5 separate regions of the Homo sapiens genome follow, and regions 2, 3, 4 and 5 are each linked to region 1. Evidence: promoter capture Hi-C in 16 types of primary human blood cells and fetal thymus (Javierre and others, 2016). All regions are on one chromosome and are shown on one strand. The core of a region is centred on a gene start or on the middle of the fragment in contact, and the rest is flanking DNA. Distances in the headings are between cores, read along the strand shown. Region 1 holds the start of HEXA (hexosaminidase subunit alpha). Region 2 overlaps ARIH1 (ariadne RBR E3 ubiquitin protein ligase 1). Region 3 overlaps ARIH1 (ariadne RBR E3 ubiquitin protein ligase 1). Region 4 overlaps ARIH1 (ariadne RBR E3 ubiquitin protein ligase 1). Region 5 overlaps ARIH1 (ariadne RBR E3 ubiquitin protein ligase 1).

Evidence for each region. The method cuts DNA at HindIII sites, captures the fragments that hold promoters and counts their contacts. A CHiCAGO score of 5 or more calls a contact.
Region 2: a contact is called between a fragment that was not itself captured here and the fragment with the promoter of HEXA in region 1, in 5 of 17 cell types (M2 macrophages, naive CD8 T cells, M1 macrophages and 2 more). The highest score is 6.2, in M2 macrophages.
Region 3: a fragment that was not itself captured here is called in contact with the fragment with the promoter of HEXA in region 1 in 13 of 17 cell types (M0 macrophages, M1 macrophages, monocytes and 10 more); the score reaches 11.9 in M0 macrophages.
Region 4: a fragment that was not itself captured here is called in contact with the fragment with the promoter of HEXA in region 1 in 9 of 17 cell types (M0 macrophages, M1 macrophages, monocytes and 6 more); the score reaches 7.5 in M0 macrophages.
Region 5: a contact is called between a fragment that was not itself captured here and the fragment with the promoter of HEXA in region 1, in 14 of 17 cell types (naive CD4 T cells, total B cells, naive CD8 T cells and 11 more). The highest score is 11.3, in naive CD4 T cells.

Annotation. Positions count from the first base shown.
Region 1 is chr15:72,374,624-72,377,405 of GRCh38, reverse strand. It overlaps HEXA (hexosaminidase subunit alpha), which reads left to right and starts at 1,392. Exons shown (of 14, transcript NM_000520.6): 1 at 1,392-1,686. The coding sequence starts at 1,434. HEXA-AS1 (HEXA antisense RNA 1) reads right to left here and starts at 1,293. Exons shown (of 1, transcript NR_027262.1): 1 at 1-1,293. RefSeq lists enhancers at 633-682, 1,013-1,152, 1,044-1,600, 1,601-2,156. The HindIII fragment of the contact is 8,315 bases long and covers 1-2,782 here.
Region 2 is chr15:72,600,127-72,602,908 of GRCh38, reverse strand. ARIH1 (ariadne RBR E3 ubiquitin protein ligase 1) reads right to left here. Exons shown (of 14, transcript NM_005744.5): 14 at 1-2,782. Among named protein-coding and RNA genes, the nearest start is that of MIR630, 14 kb to the right of the region's middle. The HindIII fragment of the contact is 3,132 bases long and covers 1-2,782 here.
Region 3 is chr15:72,566,465-72,569,246 of GRCh38, reverse strand. It overlaps ARIH1 (ariadne RBR E3 ubiquitin protein ligase 1), which reads right to left. Exons shown (of 14, transcript NM_005744.5): 8 at 2,642-2,684; 9 at 2,070-2,141. Among named protein-coding and RNA genes, the nearest start is that of MIR630, 19 kb to the left of the region's middle. The HindIII fragment of the contact is 1,583 bases long and covers 643-2,225 here.
Region 4 is chr15:72,547,622-72,550,403 of GRCh38, reverse strand. The region is part of intron 3 of ARIH1 (ariadne RBR E3 ubiquitin protein ligase 1); the gene reads right to left. Among named protein-coding and RNA genes, the nearest start is that of MIR630, 38 kb to the left of the region's middle. The HindIII fragment of the contact is 2,331 bases long and covers 202-2,532 here.
Region 5 is chr15:72,529,735-72,532,516 of GRCh38, reverse strand. The region is part of intron 2 of ARIH1 (ariadne RBR E3 ubiquitin protein ligase 1); the gene reads right to left. Among named protein-coding and RNA genes, the nearest start is that of MIR630, 56 kb to the left of the region's middle. The HindIII fragment of the contact is 1,739 bases long and covers 479-2,217 here.

The sequences.
Region 1 (2,782 bases), core at 143-2,642:
GTACCTACGACCTGAATATAAATTATCATTATTTCAGTAGCCCTTTATTTGTTTTTGAGAAAGGGTTTCACTATACTGCCCAGGCTAAACTTGAACTCCTTGGTTCAAGTGATCCTGCCGCCTCAGCCTCCTGAATAGCTGGGAGTAGCTGGGACTACAGGGATGTGTTATCATGCCCAGTGAAAGCCCTTTATTTTTAAAAGTTCATTTTCCTGATCTTTACATGTATTTTAATACTAAAATTAAATTTAAAAATTTTAAAAAGTACCTACTAACCAAATAATGCCACCCAATAACAATAGCATTATTTGTATTATGTTCTGGTAATATAGTGGTGAACAAGGAAGACAGGGTCTCTGATAACTGTGGAATTCTCCTTGATCACTTCTCAAGCCTCTCTTCCGGATACTATTTCTTGGATCTACAGCTGTCTTCCTTCCCCACTTCTGTAGTTCAGTCTCTCATTATTCTCTACCTCCAATAAAAAGGGGCCTCCTAACTGGTTTCTTATGCAACTACTCAACATGGTATTTCTAAAATGCAGATCTTTCGGGATGATTTTCAATTGCTCAGAGAATAAATTCCTTGACTTTCTACGTAAGGCCCTGCAGGACCAGGCCCCTGTCATTATCTCTGAGCACTCTCCATCTTGCACCCAAAGCCCCAGCAATATCTTACTGCTTTCAGTAAATACACACCGGGCTATGTGGGGTTTTGTCTGGGGAAAGGGGATGTGAGTTGTAACTAAGAGATTTATAGTCAATCTTGAAGGGAAGAGCTCATATTGGAGGCAATGGAATGCCTCAAGCTGGCTCTGAAAGTACACATTTTTTCCAGTCATAAGTAGATCACATTTGTGTGATCTTGTGATCCTCTCTCTAGCAGAGCCGTGCAGACTACCTACTTCCGGCCCTTTCTTGCCCCACGAAATTTCACATCACAACGACTTGTGGTTTTAATCCTCCGTTTTTCTGCTTCTGAAGTTACTTCAGCCTGGCAAGTCCTTTACCTCCCCGTAGGCCTGGCGAGCTGCATCACAACATTCAAGATTCACCCTAGAGCCATCTGGGAAACTTTCTTCTCCAGGTCGCCCTGCGTCCTCGCCTCCCCACCCCGTTCTTCTCGAGTCGGGTGAGCTGTCTAGTTCCATCACGGCCGGCACGGCCGCAGGGGTGGCCGGTTATTTACTGCTCTACTGGGCCCGTGAACAGTCTGGCGAGCCGAGCAGTTGCCGACGCCCGGCACAATCCGCTGCACGTAGCAGGAGCCTCAGGTCCAGGCCGGAAGTGAAAGGGCAGGGTGTGGGTCCTCCTGGGGTCGCAGGCGCAGAGCCGCCTCTGGTCACGTGATTCGCCGATAAGTCACGGGGGCGCCGCTCACCTGACCAGGGTCTCACGTGGCCAGCCCCCTCCGAGAGGGGAGACCAGCGGGCCATGACAAGCTCCAGGCTTTGGTTTTCGCTGCTGCTGGCGGCAGCGTTCGCAGGACGGGCGACGGCCCTCTGGCCCTGGCCTCAGAACTTCCAAACCTCCGACCAGCGCTACGTCCTTTACCCGAACAACTTTCAATTCCAGTACGATGTCAGCTCGGCCGCGCAGCCCGGCTGCTCAGTCCTCGACGAGGCCTTCCAGCGCTATCGTGACCTGCTTTTCGGTTCCGGGTCTTGGCCCCGTCCTTACCTCACAGGTGAGTCGGACTTGTCCCGCCCTGTTCCTGGGCCCTGAGAGTGCCTGCCTGGGGACAGTTCCCCCAGGGCTCCAGAGACGCCCTATGGGCTTTTGTCCAGCCCTCTGATCACAGGCACTCCACTTCCTCCTCGAGCTGCATTAGGTTTTCATCCAAAGATAACTACTATAGGACTACGGTTCAATCAGGAGATTAATTTATGGAAAATACTGTGCCAGCAGAAATCTAAGGTGATCCTTCTGACCGTGTTCAAGCTAGCCAGGGTCCTAGTGAGACTGTGAGCAAGGGCTGAGTAGAGACCAGAGAAAACACTCAAAATTGGGGAGACATAATACAAGAACTATGCAAAGTTACATACAAGTTTCTGGCACATAGAATGTTTGGCGGGCGGATCACGAGGTCAGGAGTTCGAGACCAGCCCGGCCAACATAGTGAAACCCCGTCTCTACCAAAAACACAAAAAATTAGCCAGGCGTGGCGGCGCGCGCCTGTAGTCCCAGCTACTCGGGATGCTGAGGCAGGAGAATCGGTTGAACCCATGAGGTGGAGGTTGTGGTGAGCTGAGATCGCGCCACTGCACTCCAGCCTGGGCAACAGAGCAAGACTCCCTCTCAGAAAAACAACCCCCCCCCCCAAACAAAACAAAACAAAACAAAAAAAGTGTAAATTGTGAAAGAAATCATAGAACATAAGGAAGTGAGTTTCCAGCGGCCACTTGGAATGGGATGGTAGATGTAATTAGCCGGGACTGAAAAGAGGGTATTCCAGGCAGGAAGAAGGGCTTGAGCAGAGGCACAAAGAATTATGATTGAGTTCAAAGTTCAGGTCTAGTGGATGTGATGAGTGGGGGCTGGGGATTGAGGAGGGATGAGGGTGGGGAAAATGTGGGGTTGAAGAGTCAAGAGCGCTTTAGACATTGGTTTCACATAAAATGGAAGGGGCTAACAGTTTTCTTTTAGGCAGCTATGTAATCAGTACTGAAAATTGTATTTGAGGATAATTATTCCACAGCACATTTGTAAGTCGAGCCAACAATGTAAAGGAATACAATTCTGCTGCATGGGTTCAAAATTTAGAAGTTTCTTGATAATCTGGA
Region 2 (2,782 bases), core at 161-2,660, 230 kb before region 1:
TCCGTAGTGAGGTACAGAAAACAGTATCCACTAGAAATCTTTTCAGGAAGGGTGCCATTTTGGGTTGGAGAAACTCCTTGAAAGTTAATTTGGGGGAGAAGGAGAGTCCTTGAGGGACCAGGGTAAGGTCAGAACGTTTCCTGGGAGAAAGGGGGAACATTTCTCTGGCTAATAAGGGCACAGTGCCGGACAGGGTGAAGAAGAAAAAGTCAGTCAAGAGTGGTACATTTCAGAGCATGAAAGGCCTCACACTGCATAAAATAGACTACACCTTAAGACTTCCAATTTTCAGTAAGACTCTTAGGCCCATATAAAATTCAGGAGCCTGTGGATTTTTTGGTGTGGAAACCACTGAAGAGGCAGATTGTACATCTAAATTGCAAGGGCGAGACTTAAGTATGAATTGGGAATTTAGAGTGTAGCAAATTAGTCAGACATTAGATAATAAGTAAGCAAAGTTTATGAACAATTCACCAAGAAATACAAATGGCTCTTTAACATATGAAAATATAACTGTGCAAGGAAAAAAAACATGCAAATTAGTTTCCAAGAGATACTTTCCATTTCTTGCATTGGCAAAGAACAAAAATTTCACTGACATAATTGTGAGGACAAATGCATTCACTAGTGGGAATTCATAAAACTTCCATTGAGAGCAGTTTGGCAATAACTACCAAAATTAAAAATGCACATAATCTTTAACTGAATTATTTCAATTCTAGTAATTTATTCTATAGGCATAGATGTGGGAAATGACTTTACATACAAAGGTATTCAATGCAGCATTATTTGTAATAACCAATGCCTAAAACCAACCTAGATAGAGGTTAAATAAATTATAAGTCCATATTATATGGCGCATGAAAAAGAAAGAGGCAACTATTTACATATTAATATTGAATAATTGCCAAGATATATTATTAACAGATAAAGTGCAGAAAATGCATATAGTATCTGTATTAATAAAAAGGCAAAAATAAAGAGGAATATTATATACATAATTGCTTGTATACTTAGAAAATATTTCTGGAAGGATATTCAAAATGCTAAAAGTGGTTCTAAAGAGGAGAACTGGGTAGCGGGGGGACAGGGAAGAGAAGACTTTTTACTCTATACCTTTAATACATTTTGAATTTTGTACTATATGGATGTATTACCTACTCCAATAATAGCGACTAAGAAAGTGAAAAGCACAACATACCAAGAATTGTGATAAATGCTAAGAAGGAGAAATATAGAACAGTTAGAACAAACAATGGGGAGCCAATCTAGACTTGTTTGGACAGGGAAATTTTTCCTGGGTAAGAGATGTTTAAAATGAGACCTAAAGGGTAAGGCATTAGCTTAGGGAAAGGGGATGAAGACATGTGCAGGCCAGGAAAGAATTCTAAGGCAAAGGAAGAACTTGTGCAAAGGCCCTGAGGATGGAAGAATCTCAGCCAGTTTGCAGCACAGAATGAAGACCAGTGTGAAAAGAGAAAAAGGTAACAGGGTTGGTTGCAATAGGAGAAGAGGTAGGAGTGCAGATCCACAAAGGCCATATGAGGAATTTTATTTTAAGGGCATTGGGAAGGCACTAGAGAATTTTGAGCAAGGAATGGCATGGTCAGAATGAACACTTAATAAACTCATGTTAGCTCATGAGTAGAGACTGAATTGGGAGGGGGACAAAAATTGATAATCTAGGGTAAACTAAAGGATGCTGCAAATGAGATGATGAAACACTTCACTTGGACTAGTGTGATGGCAAAGGAGATGGAGAAAAAGTAAATGGGTTCTCAAGTTTAGAGGTGGAAAAACCTCCAATACACATGATTGGATATGGGGGAATGAGGGAAAGGGAAATGGATGTTAAAGGAAGATTGCCAGGTTTCTTACTTTGAAAGCTGCTGGATGAGTGGTACAGCCAATTACTGAAATGGGAAGACTTAAGGACAAAGATGTTTGTAGAAAGCTCATGAGGCTGTTTCCCAATATGTGAAATCTCCCTGAAAGGGGTCCTGTGAGGAGCAAATGACATTCTTTATTCAATAACTAGAAGCCATTGCTATAATGTTTCAAAATCTCTCCTTTGACCTCAGATCTTGTGAGGAAGATAGAACACTTTCTGTACCAGGGCCTTTTTCAATAAGAAAGGACATTGGTTTCTCAAATTGCAATCACTAAACCTAATGTACTTTAATTATATACATAATTAGAACAATCTCTTTTTAAAAAAACATAATAGGTTGGATACTATGGTTCACACCTGTAATCCCAACACTTTGAGATGCTGAGGCAGGAGGATTGCTTGAGCCCAGGAGTTCAATACCAGCCTGAGCAACATAGTGAGACCCGTCTCTACAAAAAATTTTAAAATGAGCCTGGCATGATGGCATGTGTCTGTAGTCCTAGCTACTTGGGAGACTGAGGAGAGAGGCTCTCCTGAGCCCAGGAGCTCAAGGTTGCAGTGAGCTATGATTGCACCACTGAACTCCAGCCTGGGTGACAGAGTGAGATCCACTGTAAAACAAACAAACAAGAAGTATGTTCACAGGAAAATCCCAGAAATCACATAGAACATGTTTCTTGTGTCACAGATGGATCTTCATTTCCCTTAGCAAATCTCCTCAAATGTGACCCTGCTTATCAAGATTATTCAAATCATATAGCTGTGCTGGGCATACAAAAAAAATGGCATTTATCTATTTTTATGGTGGGGGCTGAGGACATAGAAGAGGAATCAGGCATCGGTAACTTTTCAACACCCCCAATATATGTATAAACAAGGAGCTACAGTTGA
Region 3 (2,782 bases), core at 185-2,684, 190 kb before region 1:
AGCTTTGACCTCAAGGGTTCAAGTCATCCTCCTGCCTCAGTCTCCCAAGTAGTGGGACTACAGGTGCATGCCACCATGCTCGGCTAATTTTTGAATTTTTTGTTGAGGTGGGGTTTCACCATGTTGCCCAGGTTGGTCTCAATCTCTCAAGCTCAAGCAATCTGCCTACCTCGGCCTCCCAAAGTGTTAGGATTACAGGTGTGAGCCACTGCACCTGGCCTCATATCATATTCTTGGTTGCTAGTAAGCCAAAATTACTGCTCTGTAGGCCTATGGATTTTTTGTTTTTGCATTTGTGATTGAGGTTTGTAACTCTCCCAAGGAGGGATCACCCACTATATTAGTATTTGCACAATTTGGCCTTCTTTGTGAAATTGACTATGCTGCCCATCAATGATAGCAATTTAAAATAGGCCAATATAGCAACTTTTTAATTATATATTTCAAATCAAATTTTTGAAATCACCCACATAAGAAATTTTACATTTTTTCCAAACAAGCAAATTTCAGGCATAAAATATGCGTCATTCTACATTCTACATTTCTTGGTTATAATTAACCTAATAGTATTAAACCTCCAAAATGTTAGGATATCACTGACAATATGCATATCTGTTTAGGGAGCTAATAATCTTAAAAGCTTCTAAAACCTCAAGAGAAAAACTCTTCAGTTTTCTCTCAAAAATACTGAGCAGCTAAATTTGTTTTACAAATTGCCATTCTTCCTTGGTAATCTACAATCTAAACTAAGCCAAACATATTCAAGCCTGTACTCCCTATTTTAAACATCTTTGGGGCTTACAAGTAGGAATTTCTCTAGATGTAGAAAAAAGGCTACCATTTAATTAAACAATTTAGTGAAAATATAATTGCCTTATTCTAAATATTAGTTTTTCAGAGCATATTAAAGAATTCTGGGACTTAAGGAACATTTCTTGTGGGAAAATCTTCAATTTTCAAAAAAAGAATGCTTGGCTAAGAATTTTTTTTTAATAACAAAACAAGTAACCACTTTCTGACATTACAGTATATTTATAGTAAGGTTTTCTTTGATTGACGTGAGTTATGCTTATCGTGATGGTTTTGGAGGGAACAAAAAATATTAATTTCTACCATATATTCCTTAAAGACTTGGGCATTTGTTTTATGTGGCAAGATTCACTGTTTCACTACTTTCTGGGAGACAGAAATATAAATTCATGTTTTATATATAAGTATGTAAGATGTATATTTAAACACACACAGACAACCTGCGTCGGCCTTCATTGTTTACACACTTCTTAATCTCATTGTCCTGTGATGACTGAGGCAACAGTTCAAAGATAGCTTTATATACTATGGGTCAAACAACTCAGCATTCTTTAAAGCATCATCTTTACATGTACAAAATAATACTAAAAATGAATAGCCCATGAACCAACCTACCATTCATTACCCAAGTCACTCACTATGGGGATAGGATAGGACTGAATTACATAAAGGATGGATAATACGACTTTGTATTAAAAGACTAGCTGGGTACACGGTTGGCATTCAAATGCTTGCTCATTAGATTAGTGATCGAGGAGAAGGGTACTCAAGATTTAAACACTTCTAAGACATTTGTCTGGGGTTAAGAAAGTGAATTTTGAAATTGAATTTTGAAACTAGTATCAAGAGCAATGTACTTCAAAACAAAAAATTAGAAACAAAAATGTAAATTAGCCTAACAGAACCAAGCTAGGCGGAGTAAACTCCAATGCATTTGTATACTAAATGGCAGCCAAGCACAAATCCCACACTTGAAAAATTATCAGCTTTTTCCTCTACAGAACACTAATTTTTTTTCCAGTAGAAGAAACCTAAGGCAGAGAACTGTGGATGCTGTACTACAGTACTCAATACTCTAAAATAAACTCAAAGAGAAAAAGGAAATAACAGGCAAACATTCTGGGAAAAAAAAAAAAAGACTCAATGGAGAAAAAGATGAAACAAAGCCTGTAAGTAGGTCACCTCATTGCTTTTGCTAATGCCAAAGTACCAATCCTTATCATTTTTATTACCAAGAGTTACTGAAGGAAAACACCAACCTTTGTGTTGGCTGCAATCCAATTGGAGGTTTCACTGTCATCATCACACTTTTTAATCCATTTCTTTAACCACTGTTTGAAAATAACAACGGTTAGGATACAACAAAAGACTTTTAAAAATAGCAAATTACTTTAGCACTTAACTATAGTCAAGCTTAAATGTAAAAGCCAATGAATAAGATTATCACTAGGCTCACATCCTCTTAAGCCAGGGAAATCCCATAGCTACAATGTCCAGTATATATAAAATCAACCAAAGCAGGATTTTCTTTGGCAGAAGCTGAGTGGGGAACCTAGAGCTTGAAGAGAAGCCCAACTGCAAGGTGTGTATTCCCCTAATTACAAAGCCTGACAAAGAGGTGCCTTAGCCATGGTTATCCTAATAACAATCAGGAGCTGACTTGGCTTATCCTAAGGAATTACCTCTGAATACATGTAATGATCATCTGAAATTAAAAGGATAAAAAAAAATCTATCAATAGATAGATAACAAAATCATCAGCTATGATTTTTAGTCACTAAGTCTTAGAAGTGTGCCATTATTTAAAAATTGAAATGTCAGACAAACTCACCTTACATTTAACAGGATCATGCCAATTTTCTCCACAGTTAAAGCTGTTAAGTGACACAAAGAGTTAATAGAATTAAGGCCTACCTACTGTAAGCAAGTAAATAAGCCAATCATTTCATGCCTTATAGTTCCACAGTATTGT
Region 4 (2,782 bases), core at 118-2,617, 170 kb before region 1:
TCATTCTTTTTTCAAGTAGGAATCCTTAACAGAGATCAACGGTCACAATGGTTACTAAGTGATCACTTTAAGTCTCAACCTTTTTTGACTTCTAGTCTAGAGCTCATTTTAAGATAAAAAGATAGTTCATAAATGTAATCACACTCGTGTGAGATGCACCTCTCTCAACCTTGTTACAACTTCAGCACACAGATAAAAGCTTTTTATTCTTTTTAAATAACTTCTCTAATCAGATAACAAGATTAAACAAGTTAGAAAAATAAATCATACATGGATGTCTAAAGATAGAGCAAAAAAATAAAAACACCAAAAACCAAGACACAAATCTGTAGTCTAAAGATACATATTCATTGTGCTTTCGAGGAACATATTATTATCGCAGATATCTTCCTGTCTGTCTTACTTCCCTTTCCCTCTCCCTCCTCTGATATATTCGTTTCCTCATAACCTTGAGCTAGGTTCACCTACATGGCTCCCTGGGCTTTCCCCTGTCCCAGGGGATCATATTATCTATTCACTAAACTTATCCCTGTTTATATCACAAATACATCCGATCAAGAGAGTACACGAAAAATACATGAAATATTATCTACAAAAGAAATTAATGGACTTAAAGAAACTTAAGAATACACTCTTAAAGGTTTCATTTATCTGCATCACTTTACATACACAGCAACTAATGTCAAATAGCAGTAAGAAAATTAAGAATCTTTCTTCCATAATAAGTTGTCCATATAACCTCTAAAATTGAAACCCCTTTGTTTATAAAAATTGAACAAATGACCTGGGAATCGGTTCCCTTGTGTGTAAAATGTAATGTGTTAAAAGGAAAATAGGGTGGGACGTAGGTATTTTCAAGCAGTTTCCAGCAGCACCAAGATTCCACAGAGGGGCTTCAGGAATGGGGGACGGGATGGTGGACCACCCTTCCTCACAATTTCAACTCTGCCTTTACCTACTTCACATATCTTATTCTTAGAAAATACAAATTATTTACTTCATAAAAATGAGACACTGGCTGGCCGTGGCGGCTCACTCCTGTAATCCCAGCACTTTGGGAGGTCAAGGTGGGTGGATCACCTTAAGTCAGGAGTTGGAGACCAGCCTGGACAACATGGTGGAACCCCATGTCTACTAAAAATACAAAAATTAGACAGGTGTGGTGGTGGGCGGCTGTAATCCCAGCTACTCGGGAGGCTGAGGCAGGAGAATCGCTTGAAACTGCGGGGTGGAGGTTGCAGTGAGCCGAGAACATGCCACTGCACTCCAGCCTGGGCGACAGAGCAAGGCTCTGCCTCAAAAAAAAAAAAAAAAAGAGAGAGAGAGACGCTGTAGTCGAAGCTACATTTCCTAGCACAGTGGTGGGCCAGTACAGCTATTATCTTAACTACTTTAACCTAAAACATTAAGTTGGAATCTATGAATTTACAAAGTGCTCCAATGTCTCAGGACATTGTTTTGAAAGAAGCAGCCACTCAGGACAGTTAACTCCAAAGGGTTGTAAACTAAGCTATCAAAAGCACTTATTTTAAAATGTGCATGTGACACTGCATAAAGCAAAAATTGCTTTCTGGAAGGATAAAGATACTGAAGATATATATAATAAAAAAGTACAAATGCTTGGAGAGTAGTAAAATGTGGGAGTTATACAATGTAAGTGAAGAACTCACTCATCCAATAATAAAACTTTATGAAGAGTTTCAGGTGACATTTACTTCCAAAACTGAAGAGGTTAAAATTATCCTTCTATATGAGTCTAAAAATTATGAGGAAAGGACATCCTAGTTTTGTCATGATACTTTTCGGAACACTTAGCAGTTTCCATAATGCCTTACCTTACTTGCCAACCCATGTTGTTCCTTTTGCTATCTTATCCTATCACTTGCATAGTGAAATTTCTTGTAAAAGAGTAATTTCATTACATTTATTGCTTCCATTTCCTTTCCCACCTTCAAGTCAGTGACTCTTTAGCCCATGAAGTCTGGTTTCCCATCCTACCTCACTCCTTCATTTCATTTCAAATTAACTTTTTAAATCTTTTCTCTGAATCTTTTAGTACTATTTACCATCCCCCAGTTCTTGAAAGTACATTCTCTCTTCCTTGGACTTGCTACATTTTCCTCCTTAGCCTAACTACCATGCCTTCAGATGTTAGTTCAGATTTCTGTGGTAAGTCCTGCCTGATCAAAAACTGGGTTAGGTATCCCTCCAACACGTTCCCACAGTATCGTATCTTATATTTGCCCTACCAAAGCACTTACCACTCTTTCTGAATATGTCACCTTACTACTTATCTACCCAACTAACCTGCAAATTATCTGGTTAGGAATTATGTATTTATTCTCCATTGTTTCTTAGAATAGTGCCTAGTGTGTTCAATGAATAGGTTTCTCCATCATCAGTTACAAGTACAAAACAAAAATTTACACTGTAAATCTCAAGTCATGATTTTGAATTCTAGTTTGTTGAGATTGTTAGACCATATTAAGAACAGCGAGAAAGTTATAGTGGATATTTGGAAGCAGCCAAGCTTCAGTACTCAAATCAGAGTTAAGATTTAAGTTAAGAAGGAACTGTCTATGATAGGGCAGGAGGAAAAACGCCAAGAAGTAAGGAAACCTTGTAAAACCTGGGTCTTAGTATTACCTCACAGAAACATTTAACTGTAAGCACTATATAAATGTCAACTGGCAAGGAGAATCTGTTAAAGACAATAAAATAGTCAAAATATTAATATATTGTAACAGTAGTACTTTTTAAAAAATATTCAAATTAGAATTGT
Region 5 (2,782 bases), core at 99-2,598, 160 kb before region 1:
AAGTTACTGTCATATTAAATGTTATGGTAGAACTTTCCAGTATAACCATTTGAATTTCAACTTTTCTTTATAAGAACATTTTAAATTATGGATTTCATTTCTTTATACTTAATAAGGATACAGGTTTACTATTTCTTATGTCAGTTTTGGGAAATTGCCTATTTCTAGGAATCTACCCATTTCGTCTATCAAGTTTGAATAGTTGTCCATAATTTTAAGAGTTTTTTTTTAAACCATCCACAAGATCCTAGTGATACTCTGTTTTCATTCCTAATACTGGTTATTTAGGATCTCTCTTTTTCCTAACCTCATCAAAGTGTCAACGTTATCAGTCTTAAAAAAAAAAAAAAATCTTACGGCTTCTTGATCCCTTCTACTGCATGTTTTCTATTTTATTATATTCTGTTCTTTATTTCTTTCCTTGTATTTTCCCTATATTTATTTTGTTGTTCTTTTCCTAACTTGAGACCTCTAAGCTTATTACTTGAGACTTTTAAGATGAATGCTTAGCTCATTATGCATTTAAGGTTATAAATTCCAAAGTACAACATTCTGCAAGATTTTTCCCTTTAACAGACAAATAGTTGCTTAAATAACAATTATGAGTATTTGAAACTTCAATCAACACTGGCAGAACAAAATGTTGGTTGGCTTTAAAAAGATACAAAAGCTAGGTACAACATAAAACCATTTATATTAATTAAAACATACTGTTTATGAATATATTTTCCATGAACATAGTATTCTAGGTAAGGTTTATTTTCTTTCAAAAGACTGAGGTATCATCTTACTATCACTTTCACTGTTGCTGTTGAGCTGTGCTCTAGAATATTATTATACCTATACTTTCACTCTTTTGAAAGCAGCCTTTCTTGTATCTCATTGATTTAGATTTTTTATTTTTGCTGATTTTGTAGTTTTACTAAGATGTTTTTAAATGTGGATTTCTGGTCAGGCCCAGTGGCTCACCCCTATAATACCAGCACTTTGGGAGGCTGAGGCAGGCACATCACCTGAGGTCAGGAGTTCGAGACCAGCCTGGCCAACGTGGCGAAACCCCATCTCTACTAAAAATACTAAAGTTAACCAGGCCTAGTGGCTCGTGCCTGTAATTCCAGGTACTCAGAAAGCTGAGGCCCTAGAATGCCTTGAACCCGGGAGGTGCAAGCTGCACTGAGCTGAGACTGTGCCACTGCACTCCAGCCTGGACAACAGAATGAAACTGTGTTTCAATAAATAAATAAATAAATAAATAAATAAAAATGTGGATTTCTTTTTACCATATTTCATAAAATCTAAAATGCTTTCGTGCTGAAATTTCATGATCTTAACAGAAGTTGACATGGAAAATTTTTCACGAGTCAAAATTTCAATCTTTTTGGACTGTAAGGTGTCAATAATTGAAAGATGCATCCAGATTTCAGATGTTAAAATGTGAAAAACTGTGTATCTTAGGATCAGTGAAACAAGTAGCTATCACACATGGGAACTGTTATGTTTCTTCAATCTATGACATTTGGGTCTTTTACCAATCTGCAAAATTCTCAGTCATTTTTATCTTAAAATACTGCCTCTGCCACATTCTCTCCTCTCTTTCTAAAACTCAATGAGACCTTCTCATTATATCCTCTGTATTTCTTAATCTCTTCTGTATTTTCCATCTTTTAATGGATATACTTAATTCTGGATCATTGTTTGATTTTCAAATACACTAAACTCTCTTCAGCTTTGTCCAGTCTGCTGTTAAACTATGTCACAAAGTTAATTTTGCTTATTTTGTTTAGTTATAAAAATTCTGATTTTTTTCCAAATCTGAATGACAGCTCCCTGGTGATAGCATACTCATTTTGGTCTAGGTCTGACAATTCCAGTATCTTAAGTTCCAGGTTGTTATGTTTTAATTAGAAAAATAATTTGAGAAAATAGTTTAAGGTCTTAAATAATGTTATTTCCCTAGAGAAGATTTACGTTTGTTTCTGTTATATACGGGGGCTATCTTAACCCAAGTTCAAGGTTTAAGGTTTTCTGGACTACCCAAAAGACATGAAGATCATCTTCAGTCTTTAAGGAGCTAGTGTATTCAATTTTCGCTCTTAGTAGACCTAATATTCCAACTTCCCCCTCTACTAACAAAGGGCAAACAAAACTCACAGCTAAGTCTCTTAGCTACCTCTTCTGGATCAACATACACTGCTAGAGCAACAAGGACTGGAAGCTTGTTTCTCTAAATTTCCCTTGATTCCCAAACTCTCAACCTTGAACCTCTATTTCCTATCTTACTAATTATTTGATAATCTTACTTTTCAAACATGTTTCAGTATTTCACCTAGCCTCTTCTAGTGTATTTAGTGAAAGGAACGGTCAAAATTACCAGAAGTTTCCCAGAGTCTCCTATATTTTGTCTCAGTTAAAACTAATTTTACTTCTCTTTCCATCTACCCTCTGCTATCAATTTAGCTGTCACTATTGTAAGTCAGGACAATATTTTCCTTTTACCTGGATAGTTAAAACAGCTCATTTATTACTAGATTTTTTTCTGAAATAATGCTTTTCCATCACTATTTCTCCATAAAACAACGTTCAAGGGCTTCCCAATAAAGACAGAAAAATTCCAAATTCACTTACTTAAAATTCAAGGCCCTTATAACGTGCATTAAACATTTCCAACCATTTCCCCTCTATTCTTCGCATACTCCAGACATTCAATCTCATAATTGTTCAACATATATTCCTTAAACTTTGTGCCCCACTTAGTTTTGTTTTCTGAGCCTTAAATACCCAG